Regions from separate parts of the Homo sapiens genome. Here regions 2, 3, 4, 5, 6 and 7 are each linked to region 1. Evidence: promoter capture Hi-C in 16 types of primary human blood cells and fetal thymus (Javierre and others, 2016). All regions are on one chromosome and are shown on one strand. Each heading gives the region's core, a stretch centred on a gene start or on the middle of the fragment in contact. The rest is flanking DNA. Distances are from core to core; before and after follow the strand shown. Region 1 holds the start of RBM26 (RNA binding motif protein 26). Region 2 has its middle 5.2 kb from the start of KCTD12. Region 3 overlaps MYCBP2 (MYC binding protein 2). Region 4 overlaps MYCBP2 (MYC binding protein 2). Region 5 overlaps MYCBP2 (MYC binding protein 2). Region 6 overlaps MYCBP2 (MYC binding protein 2). Region 7 overlaps MYCBP2 (MYC binding protein 2).

What was found. The method cuts DNA at HindIII sites, captures the fragments that hold promoters and counts their contacts. A CHiCAGO score of 5 or more calls a contact.
Region 2: a contact is called between a fragment that was not itself captured here and the fragment with the promoter of RBM26 in region 1, in 1 of 17 cell types (total CD4 T cells). The highest score is 5.6, in total CD4 T cells.
Region 3: a fragment that was not itself captured here is called in contact with the fragment with the promoter of RBM26 in region 1 in 5 of 17 cell types (naive CD8 T cells, naive B cells, total B cells and 2 more); the score reaches 9.5 in naive CD8 T cells.
Region 4: a fragment that was not itself captured here is called in contact with the fragment with the promoter of RBM26 in region 1 in 1 of 17 cell types (total CD4 T cells); the score reaches 10.0 in total CD4 T cells.
Region 5: a contact is called between a fragment that was not itself captured here and the fragment with the promoter of RBM26 in region 1, in 1 of 17 cell types (naive CD8 T cells). The highest score is 6.0, in naive CD8 T cells.
Region 6: a fragment that was not itself captured here is called in contact with the fragment with the promoter of RBM26 in region 1 in 3 of 17 cell types (total B cells, total CD4 T cells and naive CD8 T cells); the score reaches 9.2 in total B cells.
Region 7: a contact is called between a fragment that was not itself captured here and the fragment with the promoter of RBM26 in region 1, in 1 of 17 cell types (total CD8 T cells). The highest score is 7.1, in total CD8 T cells.

Annotation. Positions count from the first base shown.
Region 1 is chr13:79,404,975-79,407,548 of GRCh38, forward strand. It overlaps RBM26 (RNA binding motif protein 26), which reads right to left and starts at 1,281. Exons shown (of 22, transcript NM_001366735.2): 1 at 730-1,281. The coding sequence starts at 800. RBM26-AS1 (RBM26 antisense RNA 1) reads left to right here and starts at 1,335. Exons shown (of 7, transcript NR_038991.1): 1 at 1,335-1,503. RefSeq lists a silencer at 837-1,036 and enhancers at 946-1,937, 1,267-1,566. The HindIII fragment of the contact is 7,810 bases long and covers 1-2,574 here.
Region 2 is chr13:76,890,327-76,892,900 of GRCh38, forward strand. No RefSeq gene overlaps it. Among named protein-coding and RNA genes, the nearest start is that of KCTD12, 5.2 kb to the left of the region's middle. The HindIII fragment of the contact is 8,198 bases long and covers 1-2,574 here.
Region 3 is chr13:77,072,128-77,074,701 of GRCh38, forward strand. All of the region lies in intron 68 of MYCBP2 (MYC binding protein 2), which reads right to left. Among named protein-coding and RNA genes, the nearest start is that of MYCBP2-AS1, 2.1 kb to the right of the region's middle. The HindIII fragment of the contact is 1,241 bases long and covers 679-1,919 here.
Region 4 is chr13:77,089,162-77,091,735 of GRCh38, forward strand. MYCBP2 (MYC binding protein 2) reads right to left here. Exons shown (of 83, transcript NM_015057.5): 60 at 945-1,102. Among named protein-coding and RNA genes, the nearest start is that of MYCBP2-AS2, 9.3 kb to the left of the region's middle. The HindIII fragment of the contact is 1,450 bases long and covers 578-2,027 here.
Region 5 is chr13:77,142,138-77,144,711 of GRCh38, forward strand. It overlaps MYCBP2 (MYC binding protein 2), which reads right to left. Exons shown (of 83, transcript NM_015057.5): 49 at 2,308-2,423. Among named protein-coding and RNA genes, the nearest start is that of MYCBP2-AS2, 62 kb to the left of the region's middle. The HindIII fragment of the contact is 6,140 bases long and covers 1-2,574 here.
Region 6 is chr13:77,159,045-77,161,618 of GRCh38, forward strand. All of the region lies in intron 44 of MYCBP2 (MYC binding protein 2), which reads right to left. Among named protein-coding and RNA genes, the nearest start is that of MYCBP2-AS2, 79 kb to the left of the region's middle. The HindIII fragment of the contact is 9,980 bases long and covers 1-2,574 here.
Region 7 is chr13:77,176,222-77,178,795 of GRCh38, forward strand. MYCBP2 (MYC binding protein 2) reads right to left here. Exons shown (of 83, transcript NM_015057.5): 35 at 1,527-1,733; 36 at 276-407. Among named protein-coding and RNA genes, the nearest start is that of MYCBP2-AS2, 96 kb to the left of the region's middle. The HindIII fragment of the contact is 1,385 bases long and covers 613-1,997 here.

The DNA.
Region 1 (2,574 bases), core at 31-2,530:
CACTTTGGTCCATGTCATATTTTGTATTAACAAGTCGTCAAAACACTCCTTAAATTTTCCAATCTAAGACTATTTCAGCACTCTAACCGCAGCCCCCAACACAAAATCTATCTATAGCATCCCACTTAAAACTGCTAAATATTCCATATGGATGAAGATTCAATTTTCTTCCTCCTCTCCAAGCTAACGAACGCGTAGGCGGGAAAGGGGAATTTTACTGGCCACCTCAGCACCTGTTACATCTTCAATCAGTGAAGAGAGGTGCAGATGAGCCAGACAGCACATGGGAGACGTGGCCTTGCTTTCAGGAATTATATTTAGGTGAAACGTGAGTGATTTAAGCTAGAACTGCCCGAATCCCCAATAAAGGCCGTCTACTTCATTTAGAAAAACAAGGTAAAATAATCTGTAGGAAGTAAAATACAGTCGGTTTCACTAAAATAAACCGATTTTGAGGCCCCCGGAAAATATTGCGGGTGGGGGTTGGAGACGGTCTATATATAACGGGAAAACGAGAGCAGCTCAGCAATAAAATAAAGCTCGACTCAGGCTCTCGGGGGTATCCTGAATCTGGAAGCGAGGTGGACGAGGAGGAGAAGCCACAGAACCCTGGGACCTCCGTTCACCGCTTCGGCCTCCACCGCAGGCACTTGGGGAAACTGCACAGATCTCTGGGTCCGCCTATCTCCCACTGCCATCCCTGCAAAGAGATATCCCCCGGATACTCACATGGGCTCGAGAGTCTTGCTGAGCCAGGACTTGAGTGCCTCGAAGTTTTCAATGATCATTTTAGAAACCATCCACAGCGGCCCTAAGGCCCGTCACACTCCTCCGCCCGCCCAGGTCGCGGCCGCTACAGCCGCCGCTGCCCCCGCCCCCTCCTCCGCGCGCCGCCCGCGTGGGCCGCGGTGGGAGGCGCCGGTGGCAGGTTCCCGCGGGCCCCGGTCGGCGAACAGCTCTGCAAGGACCGCCGCAGGCCACAAGTGCACGGGGTGCCAGGAGCTCCCCGTCCCCGGCCCCCAGCCCGGGCTGAAACAGCAACGGTTTGCCCGGGCCCTCCCCCTTCCCTCTTCCCCAGCAAATCTACCCAGACCGGAAGCGCGACACGCGCTTAGACCCGAGCCTTCTCTCAGCCTCGGGACCAGGTGCTTGTTGGCTACGTCGAAAAGGCAAAAGTAAAGAAAGCGAAGGCGAAGGGCAGCTCAATGGGAACGATTCAGGGGGTCTTCCCGGCTCCCAGCACCCCCAAGAAGATGGCTGCCGGTAAATCTCGCGAGAATTGATGAAGTCTCGCGGTGGCTCCCGGAGCCTGCTGGGAGAGACGTAAGGTCGGCGGAGAATGCGCGGGTCGAGTGCTGTAGTTCGATTTTTGCGTGTGTGCGTTGCTTGCGGCCTTTGTGCCTTTTTATTCTTTGCTTACCTTTATGATATAAAGACCTTATTTCTTACAAGGAGGAAAAGACCGCTGACTTCAGAAACAGCGGGAACCCCAGCTCGTCCCCGGTAAGACGGCCGTGGCCTGTCAGCTGGAACGGTCCTGCCGGATGGATCGCTCTTTGAGAGCGTACACTCCCGCGTGCGCGACACCAGGCGGCCCGTAGGTTCCAGGTGCCGAGCACACTACCTCCTCAGTTTACCTAAGTGCCCTACCAGTATCATATTCTGTGTATGCTGTGATGTGAACGAGGTTTGTAAACACAGGCTGGTCTAATGGAGCCCAATGAGACCGCCAGAGGATTAGTGTCTTGTCCAACAGTACTTGACTTGCTGGTAGAGCCCTAATGACTGAGGGCTGCCCACAAGGGAAAGGTGAGAGAACCTTCACGTCTCTCAGGTAGTTTCCAGCCTGCACTTTCCCCCAGCTAAAGATAAGTTTTGTTATTTTTAAAATTCTCTTTATTTAGAGCAAATTCAGCCCTATCTCAGATCGGGAAATTATATAGTATCAAAAGAGAGAGTCTTCATATTAGCAACCCAAATAAATAAACTATTTTCCTGGGTGATCAAATAAGTTTGATTCCTGCTTGAGTTCTATTTAGATACTAGGTGGAATTTTACAAAGGGTCTACGTTCCATGAACTGTAATGGAATGAAAATATTCACAATCTAAAGACATTTTCAGTAAGTAGATCAATAAAAGCTCTTTATGAGAGACACCGATAGGCTAAATTGTTCTTAGGAACTCTTGAGTTTATAATTTGCTAGAGTGAAGTGTCTTTAAGGATTAGGTGGAAAGATTATGAACTACAAAGCAAGACATTTGTTTTAAAATACAGCATATAGAGTAGAATACAAATTAGAATCCAGCTACTGAATAACCAGGGTGTTGATTAAAGTGATTTAGCTGAGTGAAATAAACCAGACATGAAAGGACAAATATTATGATTCCACTTACATTAAGTACCTAGAGTAGTCAAAACTCCTAGAGACAGAAGGTGGAATGGTAGCAAGAGCAGGGGTGGAGAGGGTGCCCAGGAGAAGGGGAAATGAGGAGTTATATTTCAGTGGATAATAGAGTTTCAGTTTAGGATGATTTAGATTCTGGAGATGAGTGGTGTTGTGTGGGTTGCACAA
Region 2 (2,574 bases), core at 29-2,528, 2.5 Mb before region 1:
ACTGTCTTAGTATCACCCTATCACAGTGCTTGTGTTCAAGTAACACTCAGTTTACTTAATAAATGGCCACAAATTACAAGAGTAGTGATGCTGGCAATTCAGATATGCCAAAGAGAAGCCATAAAATGCTGCCTTTAAGTGAAAAGGTGAAAGTTCTCAATTTAATAAGAAAAAAAAAGTTACATCCCAAGGTTGCTAAGATCTATGATAAGAATGTAGACATTGTGAAATTTCTGTGAAATTATGAAGGAAAAATTTGTGCTAGTTTTGCTGTCACACCTCCAAACACAAAACGTATGGCACAGAGTGCATGATAAGTGTGTAGTGAAAATGGAAAAGGCATTAAACTTGTGGATTGAAGACATGAAGAGAAACATGTTCCAATGGACAGCAATCAGGTTCAGTACTACCTACGGTTTCAGTCACCCACTGAGGGTCTTGGAATGTATACCCTTTGTATGAAAGGAGACTACTGTATTCTGCATACCAAAGATTTAAGGAAAGGAATGAGGAACATGAAGAGAAATATAAAGTTAAAGGGGAGGAAGAACTGGTGAAATGAAGTGAGTGCCTTTGAGAATTGAATGAATTTAATATATGTGAAAATGATCTGTACATTGTAAAACACCATTCAAGTGTCAGAATCATTATTTTCCACCACTTATCATGGTGCTTGACAAGTCTTCCCAATAAATACTGAATGAACAAATGAATGGCAGAAACATTAAAATGAACACTATGGGGAAAGGGGAAGAGAGGCAGAATCAGAAATTATCCTGAATAAATATTTATTCCATTTGTCATCCTCCTAATATGTGTGAATCTTTTCTCCATGCAGGCTTTAGAAGTCATTGACTTTTTGCATTTAGAAGGAGAGATTAATTGAATAACATTAAGTGAATCCGGAGGCAAAATGATCTTAATAAAGATTTGGTAAAAGATGTGACAATATTTAACCTGAAGAAAAGAGAACAAAATGTTATATAGGGTACACTGCCAAAATACTAGGTCTAAATTCCAGTTACTCAGGAGGCTGAGGCAGGAGAATTGCTTGAACCTGAGAGGCAGAGGTTGCAGTGAGCCAAGGTCGCACCACTGCACTCCAGCCTAGGCAACAGAGCGAGACCCCATCTCAAAAAACAAAACAAACAAAAAAAAAAAACAGGTCTAGACAGTAAAGAATATCCCAACATTGTATGATTATCTCTAGAGTATGATTTTTATGATTTATAGAACCAAACAAAGAAACAAAAGTTAACAATGTTGATATTTCTATACCCTTAAGATGGTGTTTGGAGCTTATCCAGGAAACAAATAATATAACAAGCATGTATAGAGTACTTACTATGAGCCAGCCCTATTTATAGAACTATACATGTATGAACTCATTTAATCCTAACAATAACTTTATGAGGTTGGTGCTATTACCCAAGTTTTAGATGAGAAACTGAGGCACAGTGAACTAATTTTCCCAAGATCATACAGCAAATAGGTGCTGGAGCTGGGATTTGAACCCAGGCAGTGTAGCCTTAGAATCTGTGCTTTTAAACACTGCATTTTAAATCCCCTTTCCTCTAGGAGTGCTTTACATGTATTAAGAAGTAAGTTATATTATTTTCCCCCTTTACAGATGAGAAACCCAAGGCAAAGAGAAGTAAGGTAACTTGACCAAGATAACACAGCTCTTTATCTCTGCTGGGGGCAGAAATGCTACTCTAAAGTCTACGTGCTTGTGTTCCGCAGTACTGGTAACCAGAAACTCAAAGTAGCCACCCTGAAAGAACTAGGGTTAAGAAAGAGTCAAGTCCTTGGCCCTTATTTCTTCTTTCTGCCTTCTTTTTTCCTTCCAACCTATTTTAGGTTTATGGGTACCTGTGCAGGTTTGTTACACAGGTAAATTGCACGTCGCAGGGGTTTGGTGTACAGATTATTTCATCACCAAAGTAATAAGCATAGTACCTGATAGGTAGTTTTTGGATTCTCACCTTCCATCCAACCTCTACCCTCAAGTAGGCTCCAATGTCTATTGTTCCCTTCCTTGTATCCATGTGTACTTTTACCCAAATAAGAATCTCTATTTGAGCCCCTGGATAGAACTGACACACTATTGTCCTAATCTTTCCCTAATTCAGTCCTGTACACAAAATAAACAAGATTTTATTTCTGGCTCTCTCAAATATCATTACGGTTTGCAAAGCACCAAGTTCCTAGCATGTTCATTTGGCTTTATTCTGATCTCATTAACTCTTGACAAGGATAAAGTGAATCCATGGAAACTGCTGAGATCTAGGTTCCAGTTTCCCAAAGCAAGCAGTATCCACTGGTCTTCTGGGGCTCATAAAATTGAACAAGTGCATTCTACTTGTGGCTTTGCATATCAAACTGAACACAAAAATAGCTGGCCCTCATCACTTGAGTGATTCTGGAACTTCTGACTAAGACTAATTATTAACATCACTGATGTTTCATAAGAATTTGAAAGTCTTGGTTTCCAATCATGATATTAAATTTAGAGAGGAACTATATATAAGTTATCACATTCTAATCACATTCTAGTGTTTTTCTGTTTCGAGT
Region 3 (2,574 bases), core at 49-2,548, 2.3 Mb before region 1:
AAAAATACAAAAAATTAGCTGGGCATGGTGGCGGGCGCCTGTACTCCCAGCTACTTGGGAGGCTGAGGCAGGAGAATGGCGTGAACCCAGGAGTCAGAGCTTGCAGTGAGCCGAGATTGCACCACTGCACTCCAGCCTGGGCGACAGGGCAAGACTCCATTTCAAAAAAAAAGAAAAAAAAAAAAAAAAAGAAATCAAATGGGAATAAGAAAACTAAGAAAACATTGTGAATTGAATGAAAATAAAAACAGAATACCCCAAATTTGTGAAATGCAGCTAATGTAGTGCTTAGAAGAAAATAATAGCATTAAATACTTAGATGAGAAAAGAAAGGTCTTGGAGTCTACGATCTGATCTTGGACCTTAAGAAGTCAGAAAAAGATGAACAAATGAATACAAGGCAAACATAGGGAAAGAAATAAAGTTGTGATTATTAAAAGAAGCAAAAATAGAGGAAAATCAATGAAACAAAAAGCTAGTTCTCTGAAGAGATCAAACTGATGAATCTTTAGAGAAACTATTTCAGAAAAAAAGAATGAAGACACAAATCACCAAGACACATCACTACAGGTTCTACAGATATTAAAAAGACATAAGGGTATATTATGAACAACTTATGGCAATAAATCCAGAAACTTAGATGAAATGGACAAATTGCTTGAGTGTCAGAACTACTAAAGCTTACCCAAAAAGAAACAGATAACTGAAACAGCTCTGTTATCTATTAAAGAAAGTGAATTTTTAGAATAGAGCATTTATTTTGCTACTTAAGTACTAGTTAGATTATATATGAGTCTCTTTTAGATAGTTCTTTCATCTTGTTTACCTCTTTCATCATTTATTTTTGCTTTTTAAAAACATCTTTATTGAGATATAGTTCACATACCATGCTATTCATCTGTTTAAAGCATAGAATTCAATGGTTTTTAGTACATTCAGATATGTGCAACTATCGTCGTCAGTCAATATTACAGCATTTTTATTACTTCTAAAAGAAGCACTATATCATGTAGCTACCATCCCCTAGTTTTTTTTTTCACTGAAGGAAAATGAACTGTATACAAGCTAGTATCACATGTTGACTAAAATGCATAGCAATATATGGATTATCTTACGGAATAAAAGAAATGAAGAAAGAGAAACATATAAAGGTACCACTGTGCTCTTGTCTGGGTGACAGAGTTAAGACCAGGTCTCTTAAAAAAGAATCCATTCTGATAGAAATTCTCAGCAAACTAGGAATAGAAGAAAACATTCTCCAATCTTATTAAAAAGATTCACCCCCAAAAAATCTACAGTTCACATCACACTTAATAATGAATGGTTTATACTTTCTTTTCAAGATCCAGAACAAGTCAGAGCTATCTGTTCTCATTACTTCTATTCAGCATGGCGCTTAAGGGCTTAATCAATGCAATAACACAATAATATAAGAAAAGAAATTTAAGGCATATAGTTTAGAAAGGAAAAAACCCAAATTTATTGAAGACTACATGATTATCTAAGAAAACCCCAAAGAGTCTATAAAAAGTTTCTGAAATTAGTAAGTGAATTTAAGATCACAGGGTAGAAATCTAATATACAAAAGTCAATTCTATTTTTATACACTAGAAATGAACAATTGGAAAGTGAAATAAAAAATACCATTTACAATAGCTTTACAAATGTTAAATGTTTAGGAATAAATTTAATAAAATATGTACAAGATGTGTACAATGAATTACAAAACACTGCTGAGAGAAATTTTAAACAGATGTAAGAAAACCCCTGATACATATCATGTTCACAGATACGAAGACTCAATATTATTGACATGGCGATTCTCCCTAAACTATCAATTTGGTGTTAATTCCAGTCAAAATTCCATCCCCACCGCCCCCCCCCCTTTTTTTTTTAAAGAAACGGTCAAGCTGATTCTAAGCTTTATATGGAAATGCAAGAGATCTAGAATAGCCAAAATAACTTAGATAAAGAACAAAGTTAGAACCTGATATCAAGACTTTTTATAAAGCTACAGTAAGTAAGACACTTTGATGGATCAATGGAGCAGAATAGAGTCCAGAAACAGACCTACCATTTATGGTAAATTGACTATTGATAAATGATAGTCTTCTCAATGAATCGTAGTAGAACAATTGAACATCTATATGCAAAAGATAAGCCTCAATTCTTACACTGCACATAAAAATTAAAATGTATACAGTTCTAAAGAAAAGAACTAAAACTATAACATTTCTAAAGGAAAAGAAGAGAATATCTGTGTGACCTTGGGTTCTAGACCATACATAAAAATCATGAATCAAAAAAACAAGAAAAAACTGGACTTTATCAAACTTAAAAACTTCTGTTCTCTGAAAGATAAGACACAGACTAGGAGAAAATATTTGAAAACACATAATTGGTAAAAGACCTGCAAAGATCTGTATGTGAGTGTTCACAGCAGCTTTACTAATAGTAGCCAAACAGCAGAAACAACCCAAATATCCATCAAAAAATGAAAGGATAAACAAATTACGGTAAATCCATATAATGGAACACTTCTCAGCAACCAAAAGAATGAACCATGGCTACATG
Region 4 (2,574 bases), core at 53-2,552, 2.3 Mb before region 1:
AACTTTTACTGAGGAAACCAAGGTTCAGAAAGATTAAATATGTTACTCTCTGAAAGTCATATAGCTATTAAGTTGTAGAGGTGGGTTTTGAATCAGAGCTGAATCTAAAGTTCACCTTTTCTAAAACACTCTAAAAGCTAAGTGATTTATATTTTCTCTAAATGAAATCTACATCTCATCTGCATCATTTTCTAAAAGATGGCTTTATAAGAAACATTTCTTAACAGGAGGTCAAAAATATTTGTTGAATGAACCTATAAATTGCTGGACAATCTTCAATAATGTTTTTCTTAAAAGTCTTCAGTAAGATAACTTAATCATCTGACTATAATTTTTAGGCCAAATCTTCATTTTAGCAAGTGATCTCTCTGATAATTGATCACTATATTACCCTGTTCTTCTTGGGTTTTTAAAATTATTCTTGAGGTAGAATCCCCAGCTCCAATTTGGGGCTGTTGATACCAACTGGTCCAGATCATGTAACTGTTTTTTTTTTTTTTTTAAATCGATTAAGGGCTATTTATATCCCCAAAGTTTTATTATCTACTTAGAATGATGGCAGCTCCAAGAGTTATCAAGCTTCAGTTGGGGTGGAGAGATAACTGTGAATGTGTACGTCATTGGAACTCCTGGTCCACAAAAGTTTAGTGGAAGGGATAATGGTTGTAACATTTGGCTTAGATACCTAACAAGTAAGATTGTAAAGGTCAATTTATTCTCGAACAATCACTGAATGATCTCCAGATTTCCCTTCAACTAAGATGCAAAATTTAGAGATGCACATTTATAGCTATGTCATATAGAAGGAATGTCAATCACACATTAGAAATTATCCCATGCCTTTTCCTTCAAAAATTAAATTTTAAAAATTATATGCAAATAAAACAATTTTTTTATTTGTAGTAGTCAGATCACTCAATATTCTTTTTTATCCTCATACTTACCAGTGTCTCCACTGTTAACTCTTCTTCTAGGAATAGCTTTAACTCGTGCAGGTAAAATGGAGTGTTGTTTATCATATTCGGAAGCAACAACTGAGTATGATCTTTGGAAGACAGTTCTCTTTGCAAGATCAGTATCAGTTATGGGACTGGTTTCTAAACTGTACATGGAACAATGCAACAGATACAAACTCAGAAGAGCTGAATGAAATGTAACTATACTTATAATGATGCAAAATATGTGACTCAATATTTCATGTGGAGAAACAAAATCAAAGCCAAATTGATAATCTCTCTTTAAATCATAATTTGATCTTTTCAAATGCAGTAACATTTTGACTGATTTCAGCATTGTACCTTAAAACTTATGGTTTTCTTAAATCTACTTTGTATTTTAAATGAAAAAGAAGAAAGGTTTCCAAGCTCCTTTTAGAATCAAAAGCACTGGGGTGGAATTCATGTATCATAATATTCAGGAAAAACAGTCAGATATAATCGTAAGTGCACCAAATAGAAAGAAAATGGATATGTACACATGAAAACCTAATAAAACAGGAAGCAAAATTTGGTTCCAAAGTTTTCTTTTGGTGTCTTCAGTGTTCTGTGAGGTTTCTCACTCTTGGGAAATGTTGCCCAAAGCCCTTGGAGGATGGCTGCATCAAGGTGTCATGAGAGGTAACAAACTGATTTTTGGCACCAGTGTTGTATTTACACTCTATAAAAGAACTTAATGGTTTTATTCAGGCTTAAGTAAACTAACAGCTTTTCTATTTATTAAAGCAACATTTAAAAATACTTACAAAGTTATTAAGAGAGCTATACAATTTCCTTTATTGACACATTTTATAAAAAAAGAGAAATCCCTTCTCTTTCTTATTTCTCTAAAACAAATTTAGAAACTATTCTTTTCGTGAGCTCCTTTTTCTGTCACCTGAATTCAAATTGGAATATTTTTGCTCACCGTTGGTTCTGGAGTTTTTTCCATCATTCAAGCCAGGTTTGAAATCCTGTGTCCCTTGGTAAAATTATCTATTTTCTAATAGACGGCTAACTGCCTAGGTGTTTTCTTTACTCACCACTTCTCTAAGCTTATGTACATTCTTGTTTGAATAGACTATAAATACTGTACATAACTGATTGGCAGTAAATGTCCCTGGGTGTTAGTATAGGTTGCTTGGTTCCAGAATGACTAGAATACAGGGAAACATTAACTTAATTCACTTTATATATGGTGTTACTATAAAGCACAGACATTTGTTCTGTTTTCAGAGGAAGTTTTCTACTAACTTAAAAAAAATTACACAAATTTAAAAAGTGACTTTTTACCAAAAAAAAAAAAAAATTGCTTGTGAAAGAATTCAAGCAACACAAGAAAATCCAAAGAAGAAAGCAAAGATGACATCTTTAATTGAATGGCTACCCTGAGCCAGGTAATTCCTTGTTAGGCTGTCTTGCCTCCTGTAGGATGGTTAGCAACATCCCTGGCCTCAACTCACTAGGATGCCCACTCAACTAGCCCAGTTGTGACAAAGTTATTTCCAAATATTTCCAGATGTCAACAGAGAGGCAAATATCACCCTCAATTGAGAACCACTGATTTAATGAATTCATTTATTCATCAACTTTTTTTTTT
Region 5 (2,574 bases), core at 57-2,556, 2.3 Mb before region 1:
AATTTTCACAATGTCATTCTTGGCTATTTCTACTTTCGAATTCCTACTGTAATTTGTATGTCTTGTGTGTCACTACTTATATTCTACTTCATAAGATTTTTGTTTGCGTGTTTTATTTTCACAATCCTCATTAAAGTGTTAACACTTGACAGGAATTGTCTTACCCAGGAAAATGTATGCTCAGAACCAAAAAACATTTGCTGAACTAAAGGCTTTATGAATATATTGAAATAAAGAAGAGTGCAGCAAAGGCTGCTGGTGAAGGTCTCTAGAATGGTACAGATGAACTGGATATATCTGAGTCTATATAGTTACATTAATGTATGAGAACATACAATTACATCAATGTAAAGTACCTCTTTACCTCCACTGCCAAAGCAAACTACTTAAAGCAGGGTTTCCCAAATATTTTGGTGAAATATTAATTGGTATTATTACTATCTCCACCCTGTTTCTCTCTTCTCCACTTGCAAGGGGTCCCACGATAAGGATTAAACATAGTCAGACAAGTTTCTTGATTTCAGAACTTCTCAGAATCCCTAATATGTTAATGTAGATTGTGTGAATGTCTCAAGTGAGACTACCATATACAAGTTGAGCATCTCTAATCTGAAAACCCCAAATCCAAAATGATCTAAAATCTAAAACCTTTGGGTGCTGACATGATGCTCAAAAAAAGTGCTCACTGGAGCATTCTGAATTTTGAAATTTTGAATTAGGGATGCTCAACTGGTAACTGTAATACAACTATTCCAAAATCAGAAAAAGTCCAAAATCTAGAATACTTCTGGTGCCAAGCATTTCAGATAAAAGATACTCATCCCAAACCAGGTTTTCGAAATTTATCTGATCACAGAAACCCCTTTCCTTGAGGAGCATCAGGAAAAATAATGTTACAAGAAATTCACACTGATAAGTACTAGAGTTTTCTCCTTGTTATCCTATTATACAGACAGTTTAAAAGTAAAGAAAAGATTAATGCCTAAAACAAAAGAAATATGTTTTTCAAAGTTAATGGTTGTGATGATTACTTCTAGGTGTCCACTTGACTGGATTAAAGAATACCTAGAAACCTGGTAAGGCATTACTTTTGCGTCTGTGAGGGTGTTTCCAGACAAGACTGGCGTGTGAGTGTGAGTGGAGTAGGTGGAGAAGATCTGCTTTCAATGTGGACAGGCGCTGTCCAATCAGCTGGGGACACAGAGCAAACAAAAACAGAGGAGAGGTGAATGTATTTCTATTTTTTGGAGCTTGGATAAACACTTCCTCTACTGTCCCTTGACATTTGAACTCCAGGGTCCCCAGCATTTAGACTCCAGGACTTATTATTAGTGGCCCTCCTGGATTCTCAGACCTTTGGCCTCAGACTGAGAGTTACATCATCTGCTTCCCTGGTTCTGAGGCTACCTGCATCTCAGGATCTCCAGCTTGCAGGTGTGGCCCATAATGGGACTTTTCAGACTCCATAATTGTGCGAGCCAATTTCCCTAATAAATCCTCTCATATATCTAATATAGACATGCATTGCTTAAGGATGGGGAAATGTTCTGAGAAATGAATCACCAGGCAATTTCATCATTGTGCAAACATCAGAGTGGACTTAAGCAAACCTAGATGGTACAGATTACCTGGGTTATATGGTACAGCCTATTGGTCTTAGGCTACAATCCTGTACAGCATGTTACCCTACTGAATACTGCAGGTAACTGTAACACAATGGTAAGGATTTGCATATCTAAACATATCTAAGCATAGAAAAGGTACAGGAAAATCTTATAGGACCACCATTATATACGCTGTTCGTCACTGACCAAAATGCTATGAGGTACATGACTGTATAGATATCCTATTGGTTCTGTCTCTCTGGAGAACCCAGATTAACACAATGATCGATTTAAAAATGCATTCATTCATCCATATTTGCTGTCATTATGTGCCAGGCACTGAGCTACACTGGAAGATCCAAACATGAATGCTTTCTGCTCACAGTCAGGAGAGGCACAGACACACCCACAGGGGAGAGACAGGGTAACAGCAGCGTGGAAGAGAGCACACCTGACTAGTAACATCAGGAAATGGAGGGAGAGAGTCATGAGGGCTACAGTGCCTGGGCGGACACCAGAAATTATTACAAAATGTTAATGCACTAATTAAATACTCATTATGAAAGAGAAAACAAGGCCTCAAATAAGTTATGAAACCTATCCATATGTCTAGTGCAAGTTAATGGGCAAAACTAGAAGATAAAAATAATTTTGACTCTAGTTATTTGAAGTAAGTAGTAGCTCATGGCTTTAAAGAAAATACCGATTTCAATGCCATCAATGGTAACATGAAGAGTGTAGAGTCCAATAGCCCCTGGAGTCCAATTTGCACAATAAGTCCCATCATTATTGACACGGATCAGCATATTCTCACTGGGTCTGAAAAGAAATAAGATGGATATTGGAAATTTTACTTTTGGTTAAGCAGTCAACATCATTACGATAGTTCAGCAAACATTTAATTTGTTTGCATACCTCCTGGCAATCCTACCACCCTGCCATAGTACGCTTGCCTACTCTCCAAAATGCT
Region 6 (2,574 bases), core at 49-2,548, 2.2 Mb before region 1:
TTTTTTCATAGAAAATAATTACATTTCTAGTACTATCAAATTTGAAATTATACAGTTTCAAAAATAATCATCTTTGGAATCAAATAGACTTAAATTCAAATCCTGGCTTTGGACAAATTATTTGCTGTGTGCTCTTAAGCTAAAAAGTTACCATCCCTGAATCTGTAAAATGTATAAACTGGTCATCAAATAATCTCTCTTACACAGTTAAAAAATTCAAACTAAATAATGCATATAAAGTATATAATACATTGCCTAACAAATAGTAAGTGTTTAATACATGTTAGATTATCAGAATAACTACCTTACATGCCAAAAAGAGGCAATTTGGGACACCATTTTTTTTTTTCTTGAACAATAACATAATAAAGATCTCTCCATATCTGGTCTAGATGACACCTTATATACCATAATAATCCCTGAAATTATAAACCATATATGAACTCTGATATGGTTTGGCTCTGTGTCCCCACCCAAATCTCAACTCGAATTATAAATCTCCACATGTTGGGGGAGTGACCTGGCGGGAGGTGACTGAATCATGGGGGCAGACTTCCCCCTTGCTGTTTTCCTTACAATATCTGGTTGTTTGATAAGTGTGTAGGCCTTTCCCCTTCTCTCTCTCCTGCTGCCATGTAAGACTTGCCTTGCTTCCCTTTTGCCTTCTGCCATGATTGTAAGTTTCCTGAGGCCTCCTCAGCCATGTAGGGAACTGTGAGTCAATTAAACCTCTTTTCTTTATAAATTACCCAGCCTCAGGTAGTTCTTTATAGCAGTGTGAAAATGGACTAATAGAAACTCTTTGATAGTTCTCCTTCACCTAGAATGTTGCCTGACACATATTGTTTATTATATATCTGTTGAATTTATTTTTATTTTGAATCTTAAGGTACAAAGATTTAACTTTAAAAAAGGAATACACATAAGATGCCAATGGCTTTTTAAAACTCAGACGTTTCTTAACATTATTGACAACACTACAGCTCCCTATGATCAGAAGACAGTGTTCAAAATCACAAACTTTTTTTTTTTTTTTTTTGAGACGGCGTTTCACTCTTGTTGCCTGGGCTGGAGTACAATGGCATGATCTTGGCTCACCTCAACCTCCGACTCCCGGGTTCAAGCGATTCTCCTGCCTCAGCCTCCTGAGTAGCTGGGATTACAGGCATGCGCCACCACGCCCAGCTAATGAGACGGGGTTTCTTTTGTCACCAAACTGCCAGCGAACAAATCCCAGTGCAGTTGCTCACTAGCTGTATGATCGTGGGCGAACTGCCTAAATGCTCTATGCCTCATTTGTAAATGGAGATAAAACTTTTTAATTCATTGGGTTGCTGTGGGGAGTTAAAAATGCACAAAATGTTTAAAATAGTGCTTGACAAAGATGAAATAAATGTTTTCATTATTACCGCTTTGATTAATTCACCTCAGGAAATAAGTAAAATGTAAAGCACTAGCCTTCACAATTACAAGGTCTGGGTACCAGCCTTTGTTTCCCTTCTGAGTCTTCAAGAAGTCACAAAACTTCTTTGAACTTCAGTTATTATAATTGTAAGATGCAAGACCTAATACTGATTTCGAAGTGTAATTATAAAAACAGAGAGATAATATTAAAGATGCTGAAACCTATGAAGTGCTCTACAGATATTATTTAAATCACTATTACTAACTACATATACCTAGTATAGAAAATAAGTATGATCTAAATTGGTGTTTTCCAAATGTGGGCCCAAAGTTCTCTGATCCATGGCAGAATTAGAAAAACTAAGGCTATAACAGAGTCTTCCATTCTAAGACCTTTCCATCTGGGGCTATTAAAATGTCTTTTATTTTATAAGACATTGCTGATAAAAAGTAGTACATTTTTAAAGAGTGTTTTTACTTAATAAGTTCTCAGGAAAAATATTTTTGGAAAATTTTACAAATCTATCACATCCTAGGGTCTGAGTAACACTGATCCAGTTGAGAGACTCTCAACTTTTCTTCTATCTTCACACCATTGCTAGATGCAAAATTTTCCCCATCACTGATGTTCTCAGTGTGTGGTATCCAATGGGGCTCACTTAGCAGTACATCAGAAACTCTGGTTTGGCCTAAGTAGGTATTACAATTTGACAAATGCTGTCTACAGATTCTGATATTTCCATCCTATTACAGATTACTAGCTAGCTGAAGTCAGACTAATGAAGTAAGAAAACAATGTAGTCATCTCTAGGCAATTTTGAGAAATATTAGGTTGACGTAACAGATCCAAAGGGGGTATTGCACTGAAATATAGTACTCATGTATTTCCATTCAGTGCCAAATGTGCTAGTTAATGCCTAAACGAGCAAAAAAGGTAAAGCAAACAATAATAAAAACAACAAATGATGGCTCCCAATTGTCTACAGGCAACTAGCCCTAACCACTTAATATGACATACTGGTTTGTCACAGACTGAGCTCACCAACTGTACCAACCTCACCTTTTGCTGCTTCTTATAACACAACTATACATCCTTTGTGAAATGTCTTTCCCCTTTCTCTAGCAGGCAAAAAAAGAAAAACAAATTCTTTCAAGATGCAATTTAAATGG
Region 7 (2,574 bases), core at 55-2,554, 2.2 Mb before region 1:
AAGTCAGCATGTGGAACAGCAGGTATCCAAAGCTAAGTCTGTTTGACTACAAAACTTCCTACTACTCCTGACTTTAAGAAACATTATGCAAAAATATAATATAATGTGGTACAACATTAGGTACGTAGTAGGTACTCCATAAATATTTAAGTACCATATAAAGGATAACTTACAAATAGCTATAGGTAACAAACAAAATTCATGGAATACTCTTCACTATTTTAACTACATAATAATACCTCTTATTCACAATAGAAACATTCAGTTGAAACTACCTTTAAAGGAACCACTTTGTCAAGTCTGATCTCAGCTATATCACTGGGTGAGTCATCCGTTGTGTACGTTCCTTTCACTAATTCCAGAGATGTCCATCTGTGGGAATGAGTTGAATCTCCTGCATGTTCACTCTAAAAAAAAAAAATGAAACACAAAAATTCCAACAGACTCTTAATTTTATTGTATGAACAATTTTGATTTATAATTATTATTTTTAAAATTTATTTTCTTGAATATAAAATTAGCCATTAGTATTTTCCCATACATATGAAAGAAAAAGTTGGGGGTACTATATACATTTTTATGTGATTTCTTGAGAAGACTACAACATAAATAAGCTTTTCTCATCTGATGACTTAAACTATTTCTACTTCTTCACATTTATAAAGCCTAATGAAGTAGGGAATAAATTCAAATTAACTAGTGAAAGGAATCAAGTTAGAGATAGAGATAGACTTGCTATTTAATAGGCAATGATTTACATGCTACCCCATCTGTCCCATTTTAATAAAACTCAGGTACTTTAATTTTAGAGAATATAGAAAGATATAGCTCAATCAGTCAACAAATAGTGTCTTCACTAAGAATCACCCATTAGTACTCTATGACATAGTCCATCTCAACATTGTGTTTCTTGAAAAATGACAATATAAAAAAAAAAAAAAACTACTCAAGACTTGTCATCAGGGACTTAGCTAAACACTTTTAGTCTTTAATTCTACTTTAAATCTTTCTCTTTCTGAAAGTACAAAAAATATGAAGCAGTAGTGACCCAAGGTGGAAAGATGGAACACAAACAATCAGGTAAAATCATTATTTTTCAATTTCTTTTCTTTCTTTTTTTTTTTTTTTTTTTTGAGACAGGGTCGGGTCTCACTCTGCTGCCCAGGCTTGAGTGCAGTGGCATGATTATGGCTCACTGCAGCCTCAACCTCCCGGGCTCAAGTGATCCTCCCACCCCAGCCTCCAGAGTAGCTGGGATTACAGGCGTGCGTTGTATTTTTCGTAGAGATAGGGTTTTGCCATATTGCCTAGGCTGGCCTTGAACTCCTGTGCTCAAGTCATCCAACTGCCTCAGCCTCTCAAAGAGCTGAGATTACAGGTGTGAGCCACTGTGGCCAGTCTTTTTCAATTTCTTTAGTGTCATTCATCAGTGATTGATCTAGTAAACCCCTGAACATACTATGACAATGGTAAATCCTGATACACAACCCACTAATCAGGATAAATACTAAAAGGGTGATACTTACATCATCAACCAACACCTCTAATTCATATTCATGAATTCCACCTCCTCCATAGACAGAGAAACCAACCACAACTATTCCAGGTTTGTCTACTGAAAAACAGATTGCATCAGGGGACCCGTTCCCAGTGTTCCAACTTCTGCCCTGACTTGTTTTTGTAAATCGGTTAGCACTAGCTTTTACAGAGTGAAGAGAATTAAGTCCATCAACCTGTGAACAATAAAAGCAATTGTATCAGTAGTTGGTATACCTTTAACAAAACCATCCAAAGGTTTCTAAGAAGTCTAATAAAATAACCTTTATTTAATAAGTGGATATAAACATTCCTAAAGGTATGTTCTACTGAGAGATTAACTCACAATAAAACCAGATTTTATCATTCTAAATTCACAAATCAATGTCACTTGACAGTATTTTCTTCCTTTAGCCATATGAAACTATACTTTCCACTTAATTTATAATGTCAGAAGTACAAGCTTGTCTTATCAGTCATAATGTATGAATAAATCATCAGACTTTGAAAAGAGATGCTAAAAATTTCATCGAAATTCTATAGATCAACAGTTTTCAAACTATGCAACACAGAGCTCTAGAAATTCTGCAGAGATAGGTGTGCAAGGAAGAGGTAAATTTATGGTTCCCCTCTTCAACCAGACTATGTCCTCTCTCCTCTTACCTGTGAATTTGCAAGTAAAACTTCATTTGAAGAAAATGGTCTATACCCTAAGATTGAATACTACGAATATATACAGTGATATTTTTGTAACAGCATTCAGTATTTGAATACGTACACATACACATGTGCAACTATACTAATTATAGACTTTCACTAGAGAGAATTAGAGAACTTACTTTGGGTTGAAATCGCTCTTTTTATTTACAAAGCCTACTTCTAATCTAACTTGGCTACAGAATTTTGGGAGACTAAATAGATACAAAAATGGAAGTTTATGATTCTAACAAAAATTGCAAACTTCTCTGAGAAAGAAATATTCATCTCTAAGCCAGGACCTGTGGGAACTCCCAAAGTTGTATACCAGGCACCCTGTAA